Regions from separate parts of the Homo sapiens genome. Here region 2 is linked to region 1. Evidence: promoter capture Hi-C in human tissues and cell types (Jung and others, 2019). All regions are on one chromosome and are shown on one strand. The core of a region is centred on a gene start or on the middle of the fragment in contact, and the rest is flanking DNA. Distances in the headings are between cores, read along the strand shown. Region 1 holds the start of PSMB5 (proteasome 20S subunit beta 5). Region 2 has its middle 34 kb from the start of LINC02332.

The links. Contacts are between HindIII fragments. The study calls those that stand out against the background at their distance.
Region 2: a fragment that was not itself captured here is called in contact with the fragment with the promoter of PSMB5 in region 1 in 1 of the 25 tissues and cell types used here (spleen).

What each region holds. Positions count from the first base shown.
Region 1 is chr14:23,032,824-23,036,464 of GRCh38, forward strand. PSMB5 (proteasome 20S subunit beta 5) reads right to left here and starts at 2,077. Exons shown (of 3, transcript NM_002797.5): 1 at 1,861-2,077; 2 at 545-851. The coding sequence starts at 2,058. RefSeq lists enhancers at 1,803-3,002, 1,803-2,472, 2,257-2,551. The HindIII fragment of the contact is 21,864 bases long and covers 1-3,641 here.
Region 2 is chr14:22,521,410-22,525,050 of GRCh38, forward strand. It overlaps TRA, TRAJ22, TRAJ21 and TRAJ20. Among named protein-coding and RNA genes, the nearest start is that of LINC02332, 34 kb to the right of the region's middle. The HindIII fragment of the contact is 5,765 bases long and covers 1-3,641 here.

The DNA of each region.
Region 1 (3,641 bases), core at 827-3,326:
TCCTGACCTCGTGATCCACTGTCTCAGCCTCCCAAAGTGCTGGGATTACAGGAGTGAGCCACCACGCCCGGCCTTCAACGAATTCTTAAATTCTTTTTTTTGAGACAGAGTCTCACTCTGTCGCCCAGGCTGGAGTGCAGTGGCGCGATCTCTGCTCACTGCAACATCCACCTCCTGGGTTCAAGCAATTCTCATGCCTCAGCCTCCTGAGCAGCTGGTATTACAGGCGCCCGCCACCACGCCGGGCTAATTTTTGTATTTTTAGTAGAGATGGGGTTTCGCCATGTTGGCCAGGCTGGTCTTGAATTCCTGAACCTGGGGGCGGAGGCTGCAGTGAGCTGAGATCATGCCACTGCACTCCAGCCTGAGCGACAGAATGAGACACAGTCTAAAAAAACAGGAAAAAAAAAAAGAGAGAAGGAAGGGCTAAGGACCTAATTACACTTCTTCAGCATTGACACCAAGCCCTTTAATTCATCTGTCCATCCAACCCCTCCTCACTGTAGTGTCAGCCCAAGGATCATGTGGTTGCAGCTTAACTCACCAGGGCCTCTCTTATCCCAGCCACAGATCATGGTGCCCATGGACAGCCCCATGCCTTTGTACTGATACACCATGTTGGCAAGCAGTTTGGAGGCAGCTGCTACAGAGATGCGTTCCTTATTTCGAAGCTCATAGATTCGACATTGCCGAGCCAACAGCCGTTCCCAGAAGCTGCAATCCGCTGCGCCCCCAGCCATGGTGCCTAGCAGGTATGGGTTGATCTCTATCACCTTCTTCACCGTCTGGGAGGCAATGTAAGCACCCGCTGTAGCCCTGGAGTCAGCTGCAACTATGACTCCATGGCGGAACTGTTAAGATCAGAGGAAAACACAAAACAGGCCACATAAGACCACAAAAACACTCCTACATACTTCTTTTTGCATCAATCCAAACCCAGCACATCTCTTTCTCCGTCCTTTTATACTTCACAGTATACTTCTATACTTCACCATATATTAATGTCACCCGAGCTTCACATCAATCCCTTGACATGGATATAACCCATATTAAATTCATTTTATAGGATGGGCGTGGTGGCTCACTCCTGTAACCCAGGCATTTTGGGAGACCAAGGCGGGAGGACCGCTTGAGGCCAGGTGCTGGAGACCAGCCTGGGCAACACAGGGAGATCCATCTCTACAAAAAGTAAAAAAACTTAGCCTGTCGTGGTGGTGTGTGCCTATAGTGTCAGCTACTCTGGAGGCTGAGGCGCTGGAGCCACTGCACTCCAGCCTGAGCGACAGCGAAAAGCCCTGTTTCAAAAAAAAAAAAAAAACAAATCATTTTATAGATGAGGAAACAGGTTCAATGAAATCAAATGATTTCTCAATCTAGAGCTAGTTATTGCAGAGCTGGGCAAGGAACCCCAAATGTCTGATTCTTAGTACAATGCTTACCCTCACCACGCTTCCCCTTCATGCCAGTTTCAGTTACCCCTGCCTTGAGGGGCCGCCCAGTTTCCAAAACTTTGGTAAACGTTTACAATAGCCTTCCCTCGGCCAAGATTCATTGTTGTTGCGGCCTTTCCCAGCTAGAAGATCCTGAACAGCAGCAACCTGGGGTCGCCTAGGAATCAACCCAAGAGGCCTCACCTTCCTCCCCCGACTTACCCCCGGCCCCACCGCCACCCTTTCCAACCAGAGCAAAGACAGGGGCCTCCTGGGCCAATGAGACAGCAAAACTGCTGCGGTCCGAACGAGAGGACCCAGCCTCCGCCTGGGTTGGTGGCCAAGGCCACCGCAAACTCCGGTCAGGCTGGGAGGCCAGGCAAGTCGCGGGCGTTCAGTACTCAGCCTGGCAAGGGGGCTGGCTCCACACCTTGAAGGCCAGGGTGGTTGTTCCATGAAGCATTTCGATTCCTGGCTCTTCTGGGACACCCCAGCCTGGCGCGGCCAGGCTCAGACCATCACTGAGACTCCCTGGACCTAGATCCAGCAGATCTGCACGACCCCCAAGTCCGAAAAACCCGCGCTGGTTCACCGGTAGCGGTCTCTCCAACACGCTGGCAAGCGCCATGTCTAGTGTGGGCAGAAAGAACTAATTCTGAGAACGCCTAGCAAAGATAGGCCGGGCAACGCCTCGCCGTCACAGCTTCACTTCCTATTAAATCTATTCCGGAATGGAGCCATTTTGACTGCTGGCAAGCACGCCTCCAAAAAGAAGAGCCAGATGCGAAAGACCATTTTCACTGAAGGGGGTCGGGGAAATAGATGGCTTCACTAACCTTAAATTCTAAAAGGACGTACCTGCCATCTTGGCTTTGGTCATGCAAGTAGTCCTGGATCAGAATAACCTCAAAATCACAGGAAGTGACTGAAAACGTCCATGTTGCGTAAGGGAAGTGAGGTCGGCCATCTTTGAGAAGGGCGTGACTGGTTGAAAATCGGTTCTGAACCCTTAGCGGTGAGTCCTCCCACTCCAGCCTGGTGTCCAAGCAACAGGTTACATCGCTGCTGCTTCAGCACCTTGTTAACGCGCCTGAGGTTGCCATCTTGTTTAAGGGCACCTTCTAAAATTGGGTAAAATAATGATCCATTCTGAGGCCATTTCCCTATATTAGTTAAACCACAGCAATTAGTGGTAAAACAACGCAACAAAATAAAAGTGCTATACCTCTTGTTGTCAGTCGCCATACAGCAACCCTTCTTTAACAGTAACCGGTTATTAATATCCAATATTCGTTCTCTTGACTCCTACCTTCTGGTGGAAATTCGAATAAGTAATGAATTGCCTAAAAGGCAGATGGAAGAAGAAAAAGCAAAGGGTCCAGTTAATCCACAAACTAGATTCTCAGTTCAGACCTGAATAAGTGTCAGTAGTAATTTACCATCTCAGAGACGGGAGGACGGTTGAGACTGCATAAATATGTACCAAGAGATTCTCTAACTTCAACTTGCTAAGATGATGCCTTTTATTCAGGAACATACTATATTTCATTGCCTCTTCCTCCCTCCACCCACCTTCATTTTTCAAATCTTTTGGGAACTATAACAAACCGGGAAGTGTGCATATGTATGAAATGTTGCCTCCTGCTTTATGGTTCTATGAAGTCAGTCTCTGGCCTTCCTTGTTGGATTCTAGCAGCAACATCTATCAACACCGAAATTCCACTTTCCTCTGATGCCCAGTTCGGCCCCATCTTTCCCCCAGCAGACTCTGCATATGCTGTATTGTTTTTGTTTGTTTGTTTGTTTGTTTTTTGAGACCAAGTCTTGCTGTGTCCCCCAGGCTGGAACACAGTGGCACGATCTCTGCTCACTGCAACCTCTGCTTCCCAGGTTCAAGCGATTCTCCTGCCTCAGCCTCCCGAGTAGCTGGGATTACAGGCGCCTGCCTCCACAACAGGCTAATTTGTGTGTGTGTGTGTGTGTGTGTGTGTGTGTGTGTGTGTGTGTGTGTTTAGTAGAGACGGGGTTTCACCGTGTTAGCCAGGATGGTCTTGATCTCCTGACCTCGTGATCCACCCACCTCGGCCTCCCAAAGTGCTGGGATTACAGGCATGAGCCACCGTGCCCGGCCTCACGCCTGGCTAATTTTTGTATTTTTAGTAGAGATGGGGTTTCACCATATTGGCCACGCTGGTCTCAAACTCTTGACCT
Region 2 (3,641 bases), core at 365-2,864, 510 kb before region 1:
CTGCAGTTTAAAGTCCTTGAGCAGATAACTAACACACATACCACTTTAGTCAGGAGAAGGGAAATGCCCAAAAGTGAAGTAGAAAACTAGGAATTTGTCTGATAATTGATTATTATAAAGTTATTTTATCAGTGTGAAATGAGTGGCCAAATTAACTGGACAATGCCAGCTCTGTACCTACCTCACTTTGATTCTATAGACTCAGTCTCAGGAGGATTCAAGAATTCAGACAGTTCTCTGATGACATAATCCAGTGATGCCCACAACAGAGGAGGCGTATTCTCTATTCTGGACTTTGTGAGTCTCCTTGGATGAAAAGATTCAAGTGCTGTTTTGACACCTAAAATCAGAGAGTATTTGCTCTATACATATATCGAAAATACACAGTTAATGTTTAGAACTTTGTAGTGGAAAGTGGAAAGCAAAGGTCCCCTAAAAGAAAATGGGATTGTAAAGACGAAGGAGGGTTAGTTTAGGATTTGTAGAAAGTCAGTTTGGCTACTCCAGACCAAACCTAGATTAACAGTGATGCAGGCCTAATTCATAAAGGAAGCACTGCCAGCTCTTTATTCAGTGCTTTGCCAACCTGGCCTGTTTGATCTGGTTTTTGTTGTTGAGCAAATCATAGTGTTTCTTCTGGTTCTGCAAGGCAACTGACCTTTGGATCTGGGACACAATTGACTGTTTTACCTGGTAGGCTGCCTCAATTAAATACTATTTGCACTGATTTACTAATCTACAAATGTATTCTGTACATGTAACTTAATGGGCCTGAGGTTGAAGATGGGGAGAGACAGCAACAATGCATACTAGAAAGGGTAATGCGAGCAGAGAATTATTTATCAGAGACCAAGAAGAGAAAGAGAAGCTTTTTGCTAAGGCTTTTAGTAATAGGAGTTAATGAAAATGAATAGAAAAAAATTTCATTTTAACTTAGAAGAATTGCTGAATAATGGGAACAGATTCCATAAGGGGAACCTCTGCTTCTGAAAATATTTGCACTAGGACCAGCCTACGTGCTACAAAAACTGTCTCACACCAAGTCTAGTTGGTCACTTACATTTTTAGCCTATTCTAGTAGCTATTTCTAAATAAGTCTTTAAACATAGAGGTGCCTATATTTAAGATATTTAAATGAGGCTCTATTTCTATAGCTCTCTGGTGCCCTTCCAGCAAAGCATTGCTGTAACACATTGCTTATCATTTCTACAAGTGAGAACAAGTAAGCCCCTGGCCCTCCAAAATTGCATGAGTATTATAATTACTTGGCTTAGATTGAAGTCACTTCTGTGTTACTTCTCATAACTGTGTTCATTTGTTGAGATCTGTTTAACTCCAAACTGTGTGGGCGTCTAACTGTTGGCACTAAGGTTTCTTTTCTCTTGAAATTGCCAGCAAAATATTTTACCCATAAATAATGTTTCATCTAGACTTGCAAATGACAACTAACACTGCAGGCTCTTTTTTTTTCTTTTGCTTTGTTTCTTTTTTTCTGAAGGGAATATGCAAGCAGGAAGCAAAAAAAAAAAAAAAGCCAAAATGTACAGTTTGACTGTGGGGTCTGGGAGGAGAGTGTCAATGTGGATGCTAAAATATACATGGTTGTATAATGTAGGTACTGTCACAGAGAGGCTATAGTGATCTTATTAGATCATACATACAGAGCACCACTGGTCAGCTGGCGTTGCTCGGGGTGTCCTTAAGAAAAGCTCAGGTCTAGTTGTCAAGTGCAACCCAGATTCAGATACAGAGTCTCAGAGAGAAGCTTCCAGATCACCCTGGAGCTAAATGCAGAATATGAATTTTCCCCTTAGTTAAGTCTACCTGAGGGGAATTTTCATTTATAATTAGGAAAAGAGAAAGGTAAAGAACATTTACTTGCAGTGTCCTGTTTCAAATATTGTGTGCATTGAGCACAGAGGACACAAGAATGAACCCAAGCAGAAAACTAAAGAAAAGAAATCAATAAAACCACTGAAGAAAACCAGTTGCCCTTATCTTGCCTGTCTCTGATAATGAATGTGCCTTCCCTGCTCATTCCTCACTTTGGTTCTCAAATTTTCCAGGGAATTAGCAAAGAACTGGTAGGGTTGGGTTAGTCTTGGTCTAATTTGGTTAGTCATCTCTGGATAACAAGTCTCCTTTTTAGGAAGTGCCAGGGGATTTTTTGTAATGCCAATAAACATGGTGTACAACTTCAACAAATTTTACTTTGGATCTGGGACCAAACTCAATGTAAAACCAAGTAAGTTATAGTTGCCTAGAAGAAAAAGTTACCAACACATTATGCTAAATTCTTCTTTTCAGTCTGTATTTCAGTTCTTTTATTTTGCATTTTGGGTCCCCACCCATGATATTTTATTAGTCCTTATTCATATGTCACTTGAACAGATATGTAGTAAACAAATCTCATGATCGAGTAGACATGCTGAAACTGCCAATGTTCTCAAGGTGCTATTCTTTATAAGGAAAATGCCCAAATTTTAACTGTTGCTACTGAACAAAAGAGCATTTGGATATAATTTAAAGCACCCCTGAATGTCCAGGATTTCAGAGAGGAGACATGACAAATTAAAATTATATGTATTATTTAAAGATGAAAAGAATTAGATCCTCTTGAAAATACTCTAATAACTAACATTTCTTCAACATTCGCAATATGCAAAGCACCTTTCATACCTTGACTCATCTGACCCTCCTAACAACCCTCTGGGATAGATATTACCTATCTCCGCTTCCACAGATGAGGAAACAGTGTGAAAGGTAAAACTAAAGCAAAGAGGTTGAAATAGTTACCCAAGGGCTCACCGCAGATGAGGGGCAGAGCTAGATTAAGAGCCTGGCCTGCCTGTCCCCTAGCCCACTCTCTTAACCATGGTCTTGGTGAGGTTTGTGTAGGGCGACCTCGCACTGTGGTTCTAACGACTACAAGCTCAGCTTTGGAGCCGGAACCACAGTAACTGTAAGAGCAAGTAAGTAAGAAAGAAAAGTCCAGAATAATTTTAAGCAAAATGGTGGGTAGGTTTTTCAGCAATTTCACCTAGGAAGTGCAATGTCAAGAACTAAATTCTAAGAGCTTTCCCAGTTTGTGTTAGAACCATAATTTTTCTACCTCACACGTCTCCCTCGCCTTCTCTGTCACCTCAGAACAGCTCCTCCTAAGGCATGACTTCACAATGGTACATTTGTTGGTGGCGCAGTCTTTGTGGTCAGATAAAAACTGAGCTAATTATCTGAAATTATCTCAGGTCTCTAAGTGAGAGAGTTAACTCCTTTCAAATATTTGAAGAACTACGATGTAGACCAGGTAAGGGGTGAGTGTGGAGGCCAAATCAAAACGAGCAGGTGCAAGATGTGCCCCAACCTCCCCTCAAACATTGTTGAACAAGTGGAACTGCCCTGCAGTGGAAAGGCTGCTTTGTGAAGTATGGAACTTTTCTTCCTTAGATATCTTCATGCCAGACCCCTAAGGTTAACCATGAGATGTTGCAGAAGGCACTTCTATGCCATTTTAGCTATTAGATTGAATCACCTCTGGGCTCCCTTTCAAATCTAAATGCTAAGATCCCATGACTCAAGCCTGGAGGATTAATAGGTGAGCTCAGACTTGTTTCTTCTATTTTTACTATTTTGATAGCCAA